Linked DNA regions of Homo sapiens: all the other regions are linked to region 4. Evidence: promoter capture Hi-C in 16 types of primary human blood cells and fetal thymus (Javierre and others, 2016). All regions are on one chromosome and are shown on one strand. Each heading gives the region's core, a stretch centred on a gene start or on the middle of the fragment in contact. The rest is flanking DNA. Distances are from core to core; before and after follow the strand shown.

Evidence for each region. Contacts are between HindIII fragments. The CHiCAGO score rates a contact against its expected background, and 5 or more counts as called.
Region 1: a contact is called between a fragment that was not itself captured here and the fragment with the promoter of DCTN2 in region 4, in 1 of 17 cell types (M2 macrophages). The highest score is 6.6, in M2 macrophages.
Region 2: a contact is called between a fragment that was not itself captured here and the fragment with the promoter of DCTN2 in region 4, in 1 of 17 cell types (neutrophils). The highest score is 6.8, in neutrophils.
Region 3: a fragment that was not itself captured here is called in contact with the fragment with the promoter of DCTN2 in region 4 in 8 of 17 cell types (M2 macrophages, M1 macrophages, erythroblasts and 5 more); the score reaches 11.6 in M2 macrophages.
Region 5: a contact is called between a fragment that was not itself captured here and the fragment with the promoter of DCTN2 in region 4, in 1 of 17 cell types (neutrophils). The highest score is 5.1, in neutrophils.

Annotation. Positions count from the first base shown.
Region 1 is chr12:57,687,835-57,691,644 of GRCh38, forward strand. No RefSeq gene overlaps it. Among named protein-coding and RNA genes, the nearest start is that of OS9, 4.4 kb to the right of the region's middle. The HindIII fragment of the contact is 2,602 bases long and covers 648-3,249 here.
Region 2 is chr12:57,290,427-57,294,440 of GRCh38, forward strand. R3HDM2 (R3H domain containing 2) reads right to left here. Exons shown (of 24, transcript NM_001394031.1): 11 at 2,146-2,241. Among named protein-coding and RNA genes, the nearest start is that of STAC3, 41 kb to the left of the region's middle. The HindIII fragment of the contact is 4,048 bases long and covers 1-3,295 here.
Region 3 is chr12:57,705,484-57,709,625 of GRCh38, forward strand. All of the region lies in intron 5 of OS9 (OS9 endoplasmic reticulum lectin), which reads left to right. Among named protein-coding and RNA genes, the nearest start is that of OS9, 13 kb to the left of the region's middle. The HindIII fragment of the contact is 399 bases long and covers 1,515-1,913 here.
Region 4 is chr12:57,545,009-57,548,729 of GRCh38, forward strand. It overlaps DCTN2 (dynactin subunit 2), which reads right to left and starts at 2,184. Exons shown (of 14, transcript NM_001261413.2): 1 at 2,020-2,184; 2 at 1,020-1,088. The coding sequence starts at 2,055. RefSeq lists an enhancer at 2,313-2,452. The HindIII fragment of the contact is 9,827 bases long and covers 1-3,721 here.
Region 5 is chr12:57,316,101-57,320,328 of GRCh38, forward strand. All of the region lies in intron 2 of R3HDM2 (R3H domain containing 2), which reads right to left. Among named protein-coding and RNA genes, the nearest start is that of STAC3, 67 kb to the left of the region's middle. The HindIII fragment of the contact is 3,169 bases long and covers 1-2,973 here.

The sequences.
Region 1 (3,810 bases), core at 699-3,198, 140 kb after region 4:
GCGGGTCTCAAACTCCTGGCCTCAAGTGATCCTTCTGCCTTAGCCTCCCAAAGTGTTGGAATTATAGGGATGAGCCACCATACCTGGCCTGATCTTTGACACAGTCGACAAGAACACACACTGGGCCAACCTGGGCAATATAGTGAGGCTCCATCTCTACAAAAAATTAATTTAAAAAATTATCTGGGAGTGGTGGCATGTGCCTGTAGTCCCAGCTACTCGGGAGACTGAGGTGGGGGAATAGCTTGAGCCCAGGAAGTCAAAGCTGCAGTGAGCCATGATTGTGCCACTGCACTCTAGCCTGGGCGACAATGCGAGACCCTGTCTCAAAAAATCAATAAATACACACAGGCACACACACAAGGGAAAGAATATCCTTTTCAACAAATGGTATAAACAGTGCTGGGGAAATTGGATTGCCATGTGCAGAAGAACGAAACTGGACCCCTATCTTTTACTACATGCGAAAATCAACTCAAGGTGGACTAAAGACTTAAATGTAAGATGTGAAACTATAAAAATACCAGCCAAAAACCTAGGGAAAACTCTTCTGGACATTGGCTTAGCAAAATAATTCATAACTAAGACCTCAAAAGCACAGGCAACAAAAAACAAAAATAGGCAAGTGGGACTTAATTAAACTACAAAGCTTCTGACTAGTAAAAGAAATAGTCAACAGAATGAACAGACAACGTGCAGAATGGGAGAAACTATTTGCAAAATACACATCCAACAAGGGTCTAATATCAGAATATAAAAGGAACTAAAATTCGACAAAAATCTCAGATAACCCCATTAAAAGTGAGCAAAGGATATGAATAGACATTTTTTTCCAAAAATACATACAAATGGCCAAGAAACATATGAAAAAATGCTCAACATCACTAATCATCAGAGAAATGCAAATTAAAACCACAATGAGACACCGTCTTACAACAGTCAGAATGGCTATTACTGAAAAGTCAAAAAATAACAGATGTTGGTGAGGACATGAAGAAAAGAGAACACTTAAACACTGTTGGTGGGAATGTAAATTAGTACAACTTCTATGGAAAACAGTATGGAGATTTCTCAAAGAACTAAAAAATAAAACTACCACTTGATTCCACAATCCCATTACTGGGTATCTACCCAAGGAAAAGAAATTACTACATCAAAAAGATACTGGCATTTGTACGTTTACTGCAATACTATTCACAATAGCAAAGATATGGAATCAACCTAAGTGTATATCAATGGACGACTGGTTAAAGAAAATGTGGTCTATATATACAATGAAATACTATTCAGCCATAAAAAAGAATGAAATCTGTCTTTTGCATAAACATGGATGGAATGGGAGACCATTATCTTAAGTGAAACAAGTCAGAAACAGAAAGACAAATGTTGCATGTTCTCACTTATAAGTGGGAGCTAAACAATGTGTACACATGGACATAGAGTGTGGAATAATAGACAATGGAGACTCAGAAGGATGATGGAGTTTGAGGGGGCTGGATGATGAGAAATTACTTAATGGGTACAATGCATATTGTTTGGGTAATGGATACCCTAAAAGCCCTGACTTCACCACTGCACAATCTATGCATCTAACAAAATTGCACTTGCATTCCACAAATTTATACAAAAATAATGTTGAATCAAAAAACATTATAGTTTGGTGGAACATAGAATTATAGGTTGGAAATAATTTCCCTAAAAAATTTGAAGATATTTTATATTATTTTCTAGCTCCCAATGTATTTTTTCTTTTTTAAGAGACAGGGTCTCACTCTGTCACCCAGGCTGGTGTGCAGTGGCGTGATCATGGCTGACTGCAGCCTTGACCTCCTGGGCTCAAGCAATACTCCCACCTCAGCCTCCCAAGAAGCTGGGATCACAGGCACTCGCTACCATGCCCTACTATTTTTTTTAAATTTTTTTTTGTAAAGATGCAGTCTCCCTATGTTGCCCTGGCTGGTCTCAAACTCTTGGGCTCAAGTGATCCTCCCATCTTGGCCTCCCAAAGTGCTGGGATTAGAGGAGTGAGCCACCACACTCATTCCTCCCAATGTTGATGAGTTTGTAAGCCCAATGCTGTTCTGATAAGGAATCAATTAAATACAATTAAAAATTTTATTTTTGTGTGGGCACACAGTGGTGTATATATGTATATATTTATGGGGTACATGAGATACTCTGATACAGACATGCAATAAGTAATAATCACATCATGAAAAATGGAGTATCCATCCCCTCAAGAATTTATCCTTTGTGTTACAAACAATCCGATTATACCCTTTTAGTTATTTTAAAATGTACAATTAAATTATTATTGACTATAGTCACCCTGTTATGCTATCACATACTAGGTCTTTTTCATTATTTCTATGTTTTATACCCATTAGCCATCCCCACTTCTCCTCAACCCCACACTACTCTTCCCAGCCTTTGGTAACCATCCTTCTACTCTCTATCTCCGTGAGTTCAACTGCTTTGGTTTTTAGCTCTCACAAATAAGTGAGAACATGCTAAGTTTGTCTTTCTGTGCCTGGCTTATTTCATATGACATAATGACCTCCAGTTTCATCCACGTTGTTGCGAGTTACAGGATCTCATTCTTTTTCATGGCTGAATAGTAAGTACTCCTATGTGTATACGTACTACATTTTTTTAAATCCATCTGTTGATGGACACTTAGTTTGCTTCCAAATTTTAGCTATTGTGAATGGTGCTGCAACAAAAATGGGAGTACAGATATCATTTCGATATACTGATTTCCTTTCTTTTGGGTATATACCCATCAGTGGGATTGCTGGATTGTATGGTAGCTCTATTTTTAGTTTTTTGAAGAAATTCCAAACTGTTCTCCATAGTGGTTGTACTAATTTACATTCACACCAACAGTGTACGAGGGTTCCATTTTCTCCACATCCTCTCCAACATTTGTTATTGCCTGTCTTTTGGATAAAAGCCATTTAAACTGGGGTAAGATGATATCTCATTGTAGTTTTGATTTGCATTTCTCTGATGATCAATTATGTTGAGTACCTTTTCATACACTTGTTTGCCATTTGTATGTCTTCTTTTGAGAAATGTCTATTCAGATCTTTTGCCCATTTTTAAATCAGATTATTAGATTTTTTTTTCTTTTGTTTGTGCTCCTTATATATTCTGGTTATTACTCCCTTGTCAGACAAGTAGTTTGCAAATATTTTCTCCCATTCTGTGGCTTGTCTCTTCACTTTGTTGTTTTCTTTGCTGTGCAGAAGCTTTTTAACTTGATGTGATCCTGTTTGTCCATTTTTGCTTTGGTTACCTGTGCTTGTGGGGTATCTCAAGAAATTTTGCCCAGGCCAATGTCCTGGAGAGGCTCCTCAATGTTTTCTTGTAGTAGTTTAATAGTTTCAGGTCATAGATTTAAGTCTTTTTTTTTTTTTTTTTTTTTTTTTTTTTTTTGAGACAGAGTCTCGCTCTGTCACCCAGGCTGGAGTGCAGTGGCGCGATCTCGGCTCACTGCAAGCTCGGCCTCCCAGGTTCATGCCATTCTCCTGCCTCAGCCTCCCGGATAGCTGGGACTACAGGTGCCTGCCACCACACCTGGCTAATGTTTTGTATTTTTAGTAGCGACAGGGTTTCACCGTGTTAGCCAGGATGGTCTCAATCTCCTGACCTCGTGATCCACCCACCTCGGCCTCCCAAAGTGCTGGGATTACAGGCATGAGCCATTGCGCCCAGCCAGATTTAAGTCTTTAAGCCATTTTGATTTGATTTTTATATATGGTAAGAGATAGGGGTCAAGTTTTATTCTTCTGCATAGGGATATCCAGT
Region 2 (4,014 bases), core at 22-2,521, 260 kb before region 4:
GCTAACTAGCAGTGTGAACTTAGGTGGCTGTTTAATCTTTATGAGCCTTAGTTCCTCTTTTATAAAATGGGGAAAATAATATAAACTACTTCATAGGCCTAGTATGAGGACTGAGTTCATCTATATCAAGTACTAAGAACAATGCCTAAAAGATAGTAAGTGCTATATAAGTGCTTGCTACTTTTTTTTATTTTTTTATTTTTTGAGATGGAGTTTTCCTCTTGTTGCCCAGGCTGGAGTGCAATGGCACGATCTTGGCTCACCACAACCTCTGCCTCCTGGGTTCAAGTGATTTCCTGCCTCAGCCCCCTGAGTAGCTGGGATTACAGGCATGTGCCACCATGCCTGGCTAATTTTGTATTTTTAGTAGAGACGGGGTTTCTCCATGATGGTCAGGTTGGTCTCGAACTCCCGAGCTCAGGTGATCCACCTGCCTCGGCCTCCCAGAGTGCTGGGATTACAGTCGTGACCCACAGTGCCCAACCAGTACTTGCTGCTATTAACCACCAACCTGTTCCGTACACAACTTAGGGGGTTATCACTGGCCACAGCCATGTACAAATGACATCTCTCCTCTCATTCCATCCAACTGGTTTGTAGGTAAAGGTAGAAAACCCTCTTTGGGCTATGGTTGAATAATTTGGAAGATGGACTTTTCTGACTCAGAATGGAAGTCTACATAATAGGAGGTAAGAAGATTCCTTCTTGGACTTTGGGCCAGAAAGTTTGCTGTATATCAGTTCCCAGTGAGGATCTCTGAGACAATGGCGCAAGTACATACAGTTGTTCAGTTTTTTAGTTGGAGACAGTATTTTTCTAAACTAATGATGATGATGAAAAAATATATATATATATATTCTCCCCCCTTGGTGAGAAAGGGGAGAATGGGGGAATGGGAGGAAAGTAGTGTTCATCTAAGTATATTGATTAAAACTGACCATCTTTTGCCAGGCACAGTGGGTCATGCCTATGATCCCAGCACTTTAGGAGGCTGTGGCGGAAGGATCACTTGAGCACAGGAGTTTGAGACCAGTCTGGGCAACATAGTGAGACCCCATCTCTACAAAAAATAAAAAAGTTAGCCAGGCGTGGTAATGCGTGCCTGTAATCCCAGCTACTCGGGAGGCTGAGGCAAGAGGATCGTTTGAGCCCAGGAAGTTGAAGCTGCAGTGAGCTGTGACTGTGCCATTGCACTGCAGCCTGGGTGACAAAGCGAAACCCTATCTAAAAAAAAAAAAACAAAAAAAAACAAAATAAAAAACAAAGAAAACCCTGACCATCTTTTGACAATGAAGGGAGACTGGCTTTCCCTCTTTTGTTACTCATGTGATTGTGAGATGGTGCTCATATCTGGATACTACATTTTCTGGAGATTTGTTTCCCTCTTGTACACCCACAACCTTTCCTGAATTTCTGCTATTCTTCTCTTCAATCTGGTAGGCAAAGGCAACCAGATACAGGGGTACCAAGTATATTTGATATAGTCCACACATTTAAGAGTAACATTGCCTAAACTGATTCATGTTGGCTTTTAGCCCTAGGAGCTAGTCCTGTTGTAGGAAGCAAGGTAAGAAATATAGGAAGAAAGAGACTTCCTTTTCAGGTAGAGACTGGAGAGAACAGTGGTACTCTCTGTGCATGTAGAATGTGGAGCTCATAGAGGATGGATGCCAGACCTGTGCTCTAACAATCACCAACATATCCTAAAAATGAGGCTGGTCAAACAAGATGAATGTACAGCCTGTGTGAACACTATGTCTTCCACTTAGAAGCAAAGATGCCTAAAATGGATAGAGGGAGTGAAAGAGGGTAAGCAGAAGGAGGGTTTTAGAGGCAAGATTCAGACCCTGCCAAAACCATTTCTATTTTCAGTCTAGGCAAATTTACCAAATTCAGCCACTCCAAGTTATAGTTCTCTTTGAATACCATATGGCAGAATGTATTGAAAACAATATAAGTGAAAATCTGCAGCTTCCCAATAAGCCACATTTAGTTTTAGAGATCAAATCTAGGGTTGGCTGATGTTGGTTAAAATAAAACAAACAAACAAACCCAAAAACATTTGTGGAGGGTTCATTCCATTCACAGTTCCAATGATTAAGAGCTAAAAGCTATGGGCTGACAACTCTCAGATGCTACACTTACCTCTCGGGCAAATATTCTCTCTCGGACCCTTTGATATTCCTCCTCTCTCTCTTCTATTGACTTGCTCCTCCTTCCATCCTGCAATGGAACTCTGATCTAGATCGATGAGCAGAATTAAGCTAGTTAAGTTCTCCTCGTACTGCAAGCTCACTGCACACCAGCAAGGAAGAGAAACCGGGAAAGTTTATAGTTGCCATCAAAAAAATGGAAAAAAAAAAGAATAAAATTTCCAGTCCTGGAGAAGTTTCACTGGGTACATCTGACCATGCAGTTTGGGAGATCAGGTTTTCTGGATGGCTGGGGACTCTCCAAATCCCCACCCCTCCCACCCCCGCAGTATCAAGAATAACAACTATTTATAAGGACTGGGTTGCTTCCCTCTAGTAATCAGGTAGCCTCCAGTCAGTAAGGATCGAGAAAATAGCCCTGGGAAAAGGAACAACACTGCTTTAGAGGGAAAGCAAAGGACAGAGGGAAGCTGGAACGGGAGAAGAAACAGGTGTTTAGCAGAGCTGAACAGTAGAGGAGGAGGTTTATAGAACTAGCACCTGGCATTATTCCTTATTTAGTCACTAATGCCATGGCCTGAAGACCCAAATCACACACAGCTCAGCAAAGAGGGCCTTGGAAATGAAATCCCAAGGGCGAAGCTAAACTCAAAGCCTAAGCATTTTTTTCCTGAACTTAACTATATTAACTGGAGGTGGGGAAGGGGAGAGACAAATTACAGAAATAAAGAAGAAAGAGAACAGAGCAATACAAAGAGAAAGAAAAGGAGAACAGATAGAAAGAGGGGCAGAGAAAGGAAGAGAAGTAAGGTACAGTGGAGGAAGGGGAGAGACAGAGAGATAGACAAGGAAAATAAGAAAATAGAGGATAGAGAAGAACCTTACATTCTCTAGAAAATGTAGTGAGGTAACCAGACGGGATGGCTGGGGAGATCACCACCTCTGAGTAGCCTACCATCTAAATCCTCATCATGATCTTTCCTCTCCTGGCCTGTAATTGGTGAACACTGTCCAGGGTAGGGTGTAATAGAGTGTCCTTATCCATCCTGCTCTTGAAGGCAAGGAGTTCTAAGGGAGAAAACTCATCAAATGAATATCACCAGATTATAAAAGATTCTGACTTCCAACCCAGAGGCTTTGAAAGCTTCACATGAAGCAACTAAGGAGATTGCTGCTCTAGGCTGGTCTTCCTGATCTTTACCAATCTCCAAAGGTAACCATAACTTCAAGAATATCAACCTTGCCTAGATTTAGTTCTCATTAGCTTCAAGAACCTAAATCCTACCAAATGTCCTCTTATAAATTCCATTCCAAGAAGACACAGGGCCTCAAGGAGCTATATTGTCCTCAGCCCCTAGGTAAATCAATGGCAAAGTAGAAAGAACATAATGGGCTTTGAGGTCAGGCAGAATCTCAGCTCTGCCACCTCCCAGTAATATAACTTTAGACAAGTAACTTAACATTTCTTAGCCTCAGTTTTCTTATATGTAAAGTGGGGATAATAACCCCCATCCTCATTGGGTTGTGAAGAGGATTAAAGGAAATAATGCATACAAATGTGTTTAGAACACAGCCTAGTTCAGGGAAAACACTCAATAAGATAGCAATTATTATGCTTGTTATTAACGTCACAGACAGAAAGTACACAGAAACAACCCTATTGGATCAAGCCTGAAGCTGAGAGATGAAAAGTTCACAATAGGGACAGACTCCACTTTGCCCCAATGTGCCTCTAGGCCTGAATAATTCCTGATCCACAGAAAAAGGGTTTGGGAAAATGGAGAAGGGCATCAGGATGGAAAGGCTCTTTCTCGTTTTTTAAATTTTGTCTTTTTGTATGTTTCTTTGTTTTCAATCAGTC
Region 3 (4,142 bases), core at 464-2,963, 160 kb after region 4:
TATAGTTTTAGATGCTATTTTAAGTAGCATCTTTTACAAATTTCATTTTCTTTATTATTATTATTTTTTGAGATGGGGTCTTGCTCTGTCATCAAGGCTGGGGTGCGATCTTGGCTCACTGCAGCCTCTGCCTCCCAGGTTCAAGTGATTCTCTGCCTCAACCTCCCGAGTAGCTGGGATTACAGGTGCGTACCACCACGCCCAGCTAATTATTGTAATTTTTTTAGAGCGGGGGTTTTGTCATATTGGCCAGGCTAGTCTCAAACTCCTGGCCTCATGTGATCCACCGTCGGCCTACTAAAGTGCTGGGATTACAGGCAATGAGCCACTGTGCCTGGCCAAAAATTCCGTTTTCTGATTGTTGCTGGTACATGGTCACATTATTGGTTTTACATATTGATCTTACACTCAGCAACTCTTTTTTGAACTCTTTCATTTTTAGTAGTTCACAAATTCTTGTGGATTTTCTGTATAGATAATTATGTCATCTGCAAGAGAAACAGTTTTGGTTTCTTCCTTTCTAAGTTGTATACATTTCATTTTTCTTATACCTCGAGTGCAACAGAAGTGGCAATGATGGGCATCCTTGACTTGTTTCTGACTTTAAAGGGGATGCTCCTGAAGTTTCACTGTTAGCGTGATGTTTTCCTGCAGGCTTTTTGCAGATACCTTTTATCAGGTATGTGAAGTTCCATTCTGTACCTAGACTGCTGGATATTTTCACCATGTATAGGTGTGGAAGTTTAACACATGCTTATTCTGTGTCTATTGAGATAGTCATATGGTTTTTTTAATATTAAAAATGTTAATTTATTTTCTAGTTTTTTTTTATTCTTTCACTTCTGGGATAATCCATGGTCATGAAGTTTTTTTTTTGTACATTGCTATATTCAGTATCCTGATAGTATAATTAACTTTTATAACTATTTTCGTAAGTGAATTGGTCTATAATTTTCTCTTCTTGTACTTACCTTGTTTTTGTATAAAGTTGCATTCACTTCATAAAATATCTTGAGGAGCTTCCCTCTTTTTCTGCTCTGTGGAGCAGTTTGCTAAGATAGAGATTATTCTTCAAAGGTTAGGTAGGGTCGGGTGTGGTGGCTCATGCCTGTAATCCCAACACTTTGGGAGGCCAAGGCAGGAAGATTTCTTGAGCCTAGGAGCCCAGCCTGAGCAACATAGTGAGACTCCTGTCTCTCAAAAAAAAAGTTTTAAATTAGCCTGATGTGGTGGTGTACACCTGTAGTCCCAGTTACTTGGGAGGCTGAAGCAGGAGGATTGCTTTAGTTGGAGAGGTTGAGGCTGTTAGGAGCTGTTATCACGCCACTGGACTCCAGCCTGGGTGACAGAGCATGACTCTCTGAAAAAAAAAAAAAAAAAAAAAAAGTTTAGATAAAATAAATCCTCCCCATCCCCACAATATGCTACAAAACCGGTATATTGGGGGGATCGTTGTTGCTACTGATTTAATTTATTTAAAGATTATAAGACTTTTTTGGTTTGCTGCATCATGAAGCTTTAATAAAGTATAATTTCATAGGCCATTATTCATTTGTCTAAATTTTCAAATGTATTAGTATAAAATTACAGATTTTTTTGTTTTTTAATAATCTCTTTTTGTAAATATATCCTCTTTTGCATTCCTAATATTGACTTTGCCTTTTCTCTTTTTTCTTGATCTATGTTGCCAGAGGCTTGTCTAGTTTATTAGTCCAATAACCACCTTTTGGTTTTGTTTATCCTCTCTGTTGTTCATTTAGTATTTCACTAACATTGTATTAGTCCATTCTCACATTGTTATAAAGAAATACCTGTGACTGGGCAATTTATAAAGAAAAGAGGTTTAATTGTCTCACAGTTGTGCTGGCCATACAGGAAGCATAGCAGCCTCTACTTCTGAGGAGGATTTAGGAAGCTTCCAATCATGGTGAAAGGCAAGTGGGGAGCCAGAGTCTCACATGGTGGAAGCAGGAGCAAAAGAGAGAGGGGGGACATGCCACAACCAGATCTCTTGAGAACTCACTCACTGTCACGAGAAAGCACCAAGGGGATGGTGCTTTATGCTCCACTATGCCCAGCTAATTTTTTTATTTTTAGTAGAGACGGGGTTTCTTCATGTTGGTCAGGCTGGTCTCGAACTCCTGACCTCAGGTGATCCACCTGCCTTGGCTTCCTAAAGTGCTGGGATTACAGGCGTGAGCCACCGTGTCCCGCCACATGTTCGTTATTTTATCTTTGTTATTTCCTTCCTTCTCCTTTCTTTGTGTTATTCTGATTTCTTTTTTTTCTAACAACTTGAATTTTTTTTAACATTAAAAAATTCTGGCCAGGCATGGTAGCTCATGCCCTATAATCCTAGCATTTTGGGAGGCCAAGGTGGGAGGATCACTTGAGGCTAGGAGTTTGAGACCAGCCTAGGCAACACAGTGAGACCCTGTCTCTATGGAAAAAAAAAAAAAATTAGCCAGGTGTGGTGGCACGTGCCTGTGGTCCCAGCTACTTGGGAGGCTGAGTTGGGAGGATCTCTTCAACCCAGGAGGTCAAGGCTACAGTGAGCTATGAACACACCACTGCACTCCAGCTTGGTGACAGAGCAAGACATCATCTCAAATTTTTTAAATAAAAAATTCTATATTAAATTTTCTGAATAGGCATAATCACATTCACATAACTCAACTATAGAAATGCTTAAAAGGTATACAGAGAAAAGTATTAACACATCTTGTCCCTCATTAGCCTCTTTCCATCCTTAAAGAAAGGTAACCATTGTTAATTTCTTTATATACTCTGAGATTTTTTTAAATGCACATATAAGCATATATCTTTGCACTCTTTCCAAATCAATATATATATAAAACCTTACTTGGGCCAGGTGTGGTGGCTCATGCCTGTAATCCTAGCACTTTGGGAAGTGGAGGCAGGAGGATCGCTTGAGGCCAGTAGTTTGAGACCAGCCTAGCCAACGTAGTGAGATCCCATCTCTACAAAAAAATATTTAGCCAGGTGTGGTAGTGTGTGCCTGTGGTCCCAGCTGCTCAGGAGGCTGATAAGGGAGGATCTTTTCAGCCCAGGAGGTCAAGGTTGCAGTGAGCTATTGTCATACCATTGCACTCCAGCCTGAGCAAAAGAGTGACACTGTCTCAAAAAAAAAAAAAAAGTCATCCTTATTCCTGCATATAGTTTCTGTTATTCTGTTATATAGTTGTATCATTTTTTATCTAAATGGTTCCCTGTTGATGGACATTTAGCTTGCTTTAAATCTTTTATTAACACACAAGTGCTGCACTGAATAATCTTGTACTTACAGAGGATATGTAAATTGAGTTCCTGGAAGTAAGTTTGTGTAGTTTTGCTATGTGCTGCAGTAAGTTTGTGTAATTTTGCTACGTGCTGCGAAATCACTCTGCTTAGGTAAATTACTTTCCCTCCAACAACGTATGGGAATGCTGATTTCCCTATAGCCGTGCCAACCTGGTATATTTTTAAACTTTTGGATTTTGGCCAATCATCAGGTAGGCATCAGAGAAAGAATGATTTCTTAGTGTGGTTTTAATTTGCATTTCTCTTAAGAAAAAAATGTCTAATTTTCCTCATTTAAGGGTTTTCTCTACTCCCTTCTTTACTCTTTTCTTTCAGCTGTCCAAATTCTTTGCTCGTTTTCCTAATGGCTTGCTGGTCTTTTTCTTGTCAATTTATAAGAACTCTATATAGTAGAGATATTGTCCTTTTGTCTGTGATGTGAGTTGCAAATATTTTTATAACTTCTTCAGCGAAATGCTTTTCAATCTGTCTTCTCTCTTAATTATACACTTAAAGCTCTACATTTCACTCTGAGTACTATTTTGGTTGCATCCCTCAAATTTTAGTATGTGGTGTTTCCATTTTCATTATGGTTTCTACGTGCTTCTGAACTTATTTAGAATTATGCTTAATATATTTCTAAACAAATGTGTTTTGCTTTGTTGTTTTTATATGATTGCTATTGGTTTCTAATTTTATGCCATTGTGTCAGTGATTCTTTTGGTGATTGCTGAGACTTTCTTTTTGATGAATTTTTAAAAAATTGTATGTTTGCGCTTGAAAGCATGTCTTTTCTCCAATTAAGCAGTTCAAGATGCTCACCGTATTGTTCAGATTTTCTA
Region 4 (3,721 bases), core at 934-3,433:
GAGTCAAATAAGAAATAAGTGAGTACGCCAAGCCACACATTGTAAGCCAGCAGTCAGCATTCCCCAGAATTAACCAGCCCCACAGACATAGCCACAGGACTTACAGACAAGCATACTGAGCCTGCATATTGCAATGACTCTTGGACACATCTTTACTGAGAACTCACATCATCAATGTGATCCCAGCCCAGCTGTCTTCAGAAATAATAGAACCTAAAACACATCCTATAAACACACCTCTTGGCACTTAAACAGAGTTTTTACTATGTTGATTTCCATTCACTCAATTTTTTTTTCCTTCTATATGTTTCCTATATGTATCCTAATTCCCCATTAGTCTGGGGCTCATTGGGGGCAGAGACATTTCTTCCTCTGCATTGCACAAAAAAAACCACAGAATGAACACACTCAATAAACCATACTAAATGTTTCCCCTCACAGTTAAAATGTATCCGTACCTAATTACTCCATCCTCAGAATTCTCGGATCTAAAAATGCAACCACAGTCTCACATCCGCTGATGTGAAATATTTACATTCTTCCTCAAATTTGTTTTGCTCTAAAATCTTGGAATCACTTTCTTAATTCCTTGCCCAATGGATACTGGATATTCATATGGAAAAAGTATTTCTCCATATTTCAAAGTCTAGTTCTTGGTAGCAGTTTATTACAAGTGCCCAGGCTTCATGATTCATTTCCATGGGTTAGAACCCAGGGGCCTAAGTCACTAGCTCCAAACCTGTTTTGAGATATTTCAATTTTATTTAAAAGGCCCAAGAATCAGGGCTTTGCAAACAGATGTTGTTAGCTGTAATTCCGCTGACTTGACTCTCCCTCCTGCCATTGCTCATTGGTGGCTGCAAGCCCAGCAAGGTCTTTGCAAGCCCTGCAACCTATATACCACCCAGGCTGGGGTTGGCATACCCGCTTATTGCTGTAGCTCCCCCGAGAAAGGGAAGGACCTGTCTAGGGGAGAAAGGTCAGAGTCCGGAGGAGTCTGTGGCAGCACACATTCTTACCGCATCGAACTCCGCTTGATCATCCTCAGGTAGGTCGCTAGTTTCATAAACATCTGGCTCATTCCTGGCCTGCAGGTAGAAGCAGTGACCACCCAACCTCACTACCCAGCATCCAACAACACCCCTTCCCCCACTCCATTTGAATAAGCTAACAGAGAAGGCGGGGTGTGATGTCAGGGTTCTGTCCTTTCTCCTCCACCTGCCCCGTGAGTCAACAGTATGTCAGTTCCCATGTCTCAAGGGGTAGGGATGACAGCGGAAACAATTGGGACCTGACAGTAAACGGTGAGTGTAAGTGATAGCAACGATGTTACCCTAAATCTAGAGGCGGGCAGGTCCTTGGCAATCACTATTGCCAAAGAAGGTGAAGGCTATCCTCCAATTAGGCCCCGTACACCACCACCCTGGCACAAGGATTGAGAGTGACTCAGGACCTTAGTACTCAAGGTCCTGTGTCCCAACCCTCACCTTGAGAAGCAGGCAGGGCAGCACAAAAGGAAGGTACACGCCAGGATTGTCATGGGAGTGGGGGCTGGGGGAGGGCATAGGTTCCCTCAAGGATAGAGCTCCCCATCTGGCACAAGAGGGTTCTGCCAGATGGCAGAACCTCTTCCTTGGCAGGATGAAGGCCATCGTTAAGTGGTCTGGTGTGTGTGTCTGGGGTAGCGATGGGGTCTTATGGAGAGATTTGGGGGGGACATGGGAGGCGTTGACACGGATGGTGGAAAAACTCAGGCACAAGAGGTCAGTACCCGGAGTCGATTTCTGGGCCGAGCTACCGGCGACTGCCGGAAAGGGGGCCTGGTGCGCCGTCCGGCGGCCCGGCCCAGTCGGGTCAGAAGAGTTCGGGGGGTGCTGAGGCCGATCGGAGAACGAGCGGCGGGAGCCCTTGGGCGGAGGATGGGCTGCAGGCGGGAGGGGTCGCGGGCTGGTTTCTGCTGGGGGTCCTTGGGAGGTCGGGGGCGCGGTCCTGGGGAGCCGGGGCCGGTCCTGTACTCACAATGCCGGGAAGGTCGGCGTATTTAGGGTCCGCCATGGCGGCGGCGAGACGGGCTGGGGGACCCGGGCCTCGGTGGAGCCGGGGCCGGTGTTCGGGTAGGGGAGAGGCTGGGTTCGGGTCCCGGGCTAAGGCGGCGGCAAAGGGAGCGGCAGATGAGCAGGAAGTCTCGCGACAGCAGTAGCACAGCAGAAGGGTAAAGCAAAAGTCGCGAGAACAGCCCTGCTGCCACACCCCTGGAGAGGCCGGGATTGGGGAGAACGAGGCCAGGGAATGAGGTAATGGCCAGGGGACGCCGCCTAGGATTGTGGGATGTGTAGTTTTGGTGTACTGGAGCTTGGGCGGGGAGCGACAATAACGAACCTTGGGGAGCTATTTCATACAGCCTTTTCTCTCACTTTTACAGCAAGTCAGTGAAAGAACATTTATAATTCCTGTTTGGGGCTCCCAGGAATAAAATGACTAGATTAAATGATACAGGTAGTCATACTGTGACACAGCCGGGGTTTCAAAAACAAGAAGTTTGCTTGATACTGTGTATTATAAAAACAAAATAAAAACAAGAAGTAAAATTTAGTAAACGCGTAGTGTATGTTAGGAATGAAAAAGTTAGGCAATCTTCTCAAGTAAGGGCTTTCAGATAATTTGAATTTCAGATAATAAGTAGGTGTGTGTGTGTGGTGTGTGGTGTGTGGGTATACTAACCCCCCAAAAATTAAGTATCTGAAATTCACATTTAACTGGGCATCCTGTTTTTGTTTTTTGTTTTTCAAATCTGGCAATTCTATCTGAAGTTCATAAGTAGGTAAGTGGTGTCTCCATGTCTGTCTGAACACTCTCTGGGCTCTTAACTACTTCGTTAATAGTTCTCAGACTTTTATTTATTTTTCAATTTTTTCAATTTTGTGGGTACACAGTAGGTGTATGTATTTATGGGACACATGAGATATTTTGATACAGGCATGCAATGTGAAATAAGCACATCATGGAGAAGAGGGTATCCATCCTCTCAAGCATTTATCCTTTAAGTTACAAATAATCCAATTACTCTTTAAGTTATTTTAAAATGTACAGTTGAGTTATTCTTGACTATAGTCACCCTATTGTGCCATCAAATAGTAGGTCTTATTATACTTTCTAATTTTTTGTACCTATTCACCAACCTTACCTTCCGTTCTCAGACTTTTAAATTTCATCGTTCAATAAAATTAAAACAACTACAAACCTTGAAGATTTGCCTTTTTATTTTATCAAGTAAGTATATTACAAATAGAAAACCTATTATTTACTGTCACCATCATTACTTGGTAGAAAAGCAAGAAGGACACACTCAGAATAAAAGATAGTCCTTTGAAACTTATCAAATCCATCTTTATATTAAAAAAAAACTCACCATTGTTCTTTTGGAGGTGAGGGCATACTCAGTGAACTTTTGTCTCTGACCAGTGACCCTCCATGGACTGGCATTTTGAAACCCCTTTACTAAAGATGCCACCTTGGAGCCCCTGGGGACCCAAGGATGGGATGTTTCCCAGGATGTTTCCTGAGCTTGCAGGATGCTGCAACACTTAGAAATTGTGCCAAACCAAGTGACTAGAGAGTTCCTGAGTTCGGAACTCGTTGTCTTTCTTTCTCCTGGCTCCTCCCCAAGCCTCTATCCCTTTCTCCATAGTCCTACAGCTTTCCTGTCCCATTCCTTATGTTG
Region 5 (4,228 bases), core at 139-2,638, 230 kb before region 4:
AAATTTAGTCAGTCATTCTACTGAGACCACCAGCCTCTTGAAGAGCTGTATAAAACAAAATAATTCTTACACTGAGAAAAATGAAGCAGCAGAGGAAAGGGCACCTCCCCAGACTTCCCTGTTCTTCCACATTCATTGATCTAACCCAGATTTCTTTTGGCGCTTGCCTTCCCCTGAGAATACATGATCAGGGAAGGAGACCTTATCCCCAATCCCTGGGAGATGGATATAAATTAGTTAAACCAATTGTGGTAATTCTGTTTCCTTTTTGTGACTGGTTTTAGAAGGGACAAGTGAGACACAAAGGGACTTTGTTGAATGGAAAAGGTTTCCTATTTTATTTAAAATTTTTTTAAGCCTCTGGAAGAAACAGGTATCTTCTACCAAAGGTGATCTTGGATGCAGATGATACCTAGACTGTGGCAGCACCCTGCCAACACATGGAGGATGGGGAAGCAGAGAAAATAAGCCTGCATCCATCCTTTTTTTTTTTTTTTTTTTTTGAGATGGAGTCTCACTATATCACCCAGGTTAGAGTACGGTGGTGAGATCTTGGCTTACTGCAACCTCCACCTCCCAGGTTCAAGTGATTCTCCTGCCTCAGCCTCCCTAGTAGCTGGGATTACAGGCATGCACCACCACGCCCAGCTATTTTTTTTTTTTTTTTTACATGGAGTCTCACTCTGTCACCCAGGCTGGAGTGCAGTGGTGTGATCTTGACTCACTGCAACCTCTGCCTCCTGGGTTCAAGCGATTCTACCTCAGCCTCCTGAGTAGCCGGGATTACAGGCACGTGCCACCACGTTCAGCTAATTTCTGTATTTTTGGTAGAGATGGGGTTTCTCCATGTTGGCCAGGCTGCTCTTGAACTCCTGACCTCAGGTAATCCACCCACCTTGGCCTCCCAAAGTGCAGGGATTACAGGCGTGAGACATCGCACCTGGCCTAATTTTTGTATTTTTGTAGAGATGGGGTTTTGCCATGTTGGCCAGCCTGGTCTCAATCTCTTGACCTCAGGTGATCTGCCCACCTCAGCCTCTCAAAGCGATTGGAATAAAGGTGTGACCACCTTGCCCAGGCTTTTTGTGTTTTTTTTTGTTTGTTTTTTTGTTTTTTTTTTGAGACAGGGTCTCAGTCTGTCACCTAGGCTGGAGTGTAGTGGCATGATCACAGCTCACTGCAGCCTCAACCTCTGGGGCTCAGCCTCCTGAGTAGCTGGGATTACAGGCGCCCATCACCACGAATGGCTAATTTTTGTATTTGTAATAGAGATGGGGTTTTGCCATGTCACCCAAGCTGGTCTTGAACTCCTGGGCTTAAGCAATCCACCCGCCTTGGCCTCACAAAGTGCTAGGATTACAGATGTGAGCCACCATGACTGGCTGGAGCCTGCATCCTTGATGCTGTGATTAGACAATAGTCAATCTCGACCCTCCCTATCTCTGGACTTCCTGATATGTGAAGTTATAAATCCTCTTACCATTTAAGATACTCTGAGTTGAGTTTATTATGTCAGAATCCTGGGAGATAGTTAAAAAAAAAAAAAAGGGTATATTAAGAAGATAGTTAAAAAAAAAAAAAAAAAAAAGGGTATATTAACAGAGGAACGGGCCAGGCCGGGTGGCTCGCGCCTGTAAAGGCCGAGACAGGCGAATCATGAGGTCAGGAGTTCGAGTCCAGCCTGGCCAGCATAGTGAAACCCCGTCTCTACTAAAAATACAAAAAAATTACTAGCCGGGTGTGGTGGGGGGTGCCTGTAATCCCAGCTACTCAGGAGGCTGAGGCAGGAAAATCACTTGAACCTGGGAGGCAGAGGTTGCAGTGAGCCAAGACTGCACCATTGCACTCCAGCCTGGGCAACAGAGCGAGACTCCGTCCCCGCCCCCCCAAAAAAAAAAAAAAGGAATGGCTGGGCGAGGTGGCTCATGCCTGTAATTCCAGCACTTTGAGAGGCTGAAGCGGGTGGATTACTTGAGGTCAGGGGTTCGAGACCAGCCTGGCCAATATGGTCAAACCCCATCTCTACTAAAAATACAAAAATTAGCCGGGCATGGTGGGGTGTCTGCCTGTAATTCCAGCTACTTGGGGGGCTGAGGCAGGAGAATAGCTTGAACCCAGGAAGAGGAGGTTGCGGGCAACCGAGATCATACTACTGCACTCCAACCTGGGCAAAAAGGCAAGACTCTGTCTCAAAGAAAAGAAAAAAGAGAGGAACTACCTGGACCAGGCAGAGAAGTCCAGCTCTTTAAGTAGAAATAACTGACAGGCTGGGTGGTGCAGTGGCTCACTCCTGTAATCCTAGCACTTTGGGGGGCCGAGGTGGGCAGATCACAAGGTCAGGAGTTCGAGACCAGCCTGGTCAACATAGTGAAACCCCATCTCTACTAATAGTACAGAAATTAGCCAGGCATGGTGGTGTGTGCCTTAGTCACAGCTTCTCAGGAGCCTGAGGCAGAAGAATCGCTTGAACCTGGGAGGCGGAGGTTGTGGTGAGCTGAGATCGTGCCACCGCACTCCAGCCTGGGCAAACAAGCGAGACTCCATCTCAAAAAAAAAAAGAAAGAAAAGAAAAAAGAAAGAAAGAAATAACTGACAGGGAGACAGGCAATAATAATAATAATCAGCTAAAACTTTTGAGTGCTTACATTGTGCCAGGCACTATCCTAAAATATTTTATGTATCTCATTTAATCTTACAATGATCCTATTACATATTTATTCTTACTATTATCACCATTTTACAGACAAGTAAACTGAGGCACAGAGAAGTTAAACACTTTGCTTAAAAGGGCACACAACTGGCATATGGCAGAGCCAGGACTCAAATCCAGAAAATCTGGCTTTGTTACTTGCTTTCTTAAACTTTATACAATACTGCCTCTAACTAAGGGGAGAAATAGTCAAAAACCAGAAAGGAAAGTCTACCAAAGACACAAGGGAATCATGGAATCTCATAACTGTAAGGGTATTTAGAAGCTTTCTCATTCTCCATTTTTCTTTTTCTTTTTTTTGAGATGGAGTTTCGCTCTATTGCCCAGGCTGGAGTGCAAGCGGCATGATCTCGGCAACCTCCGCCTCTCGGGTTCAAGCAATTTCCGGCTAATTTTTGTACTTTTAGTAGAGAAGGGGTTTCACCATGTTGGCCAGGCTGGTCTCGAACTCCTGACCTCAAGTAATCTGCCCGCCTCAGCCTCCCAAAGTGCTAGGATTACAGGCGTGAGCCACTACGCCCAGCCTTAGCTCCATTTTTCTACAACCGTAGTCTTCCATAATTAGGTTCTTAACTCATTAGTAACTGTGAAAAATGTCCCTGCTTGTATACCTCTTAGTGAAGGGAAAGTCTTCACCTCCAGAAAGAAACCATTTCTTTTTGGAACACTTTCCTTTTAAAGAGGCAAAATTTACCTCTTTGGTAGTTCCTCCCACCGGCCCCTGTTTAGCCTTCTGTGCGAGTCATAAAGAACAAGCTTAATCTTGCTTCCCTATCAGCTCTTTGTAAAAGAAAACTTTACCTTATTTCCTTCTCTAAACATTCCCAGCTTCTTTAAGTCAAGCTTTCAAATCACATGGCTTTAAGTCTCCTTACCATTTTCTTCTAGGATAAAAGAAACTGCCCTGAAAGTAGGCAGAGGCGAGTAATGAGGGGTCAGACTGTTACTAATACAGAGTTAAGATCCACTGGAAGATAAACTAAGCATAAAACTGTATTTCTTAGGCTGAGGCTCTCTTTTGCTTTCCAAAATAACCTTTAATTAAGGTCATTTCCAGTCCTTTCAGCCAATGCAGAAGGCTCTCGTTACTCTTGGGGCATAAAGATTCCTGGAAACAATTTTTTCTGGGCCAAAACAAAAGCAAAAGAAAGCAACCAACTAAAAAAAGCCTTAGGCTGGGCGTAGTGGCTCACGCCTGCAATCCCACCACTTTGGGAGGCGGGCGGATCACTGAGGTCAGGAGTTTGAGATGAGCCTGGCCAACACGGTGAAACCCCGTTTCTACTAAAAATACAAAAAATTAGCTGGGGGTGGTGGTGCGTGCCTGCTAATCCCAGCTACTCAGGAGGCTGAAGCAGGAGAATCGCTTGAACCCGGGAGGTGGAGGTTGCAGTGAGCCAAGACTGCTCCACTGCACTCCAGCTTGGGCAACAAGAGTGCAACTCTATCTCAAAAAAAAAAAAAAAAAAAAAAAAAAAGCCTTAAACAGCTAAAATAAAGCCAGTAGTAGCTTAAAAG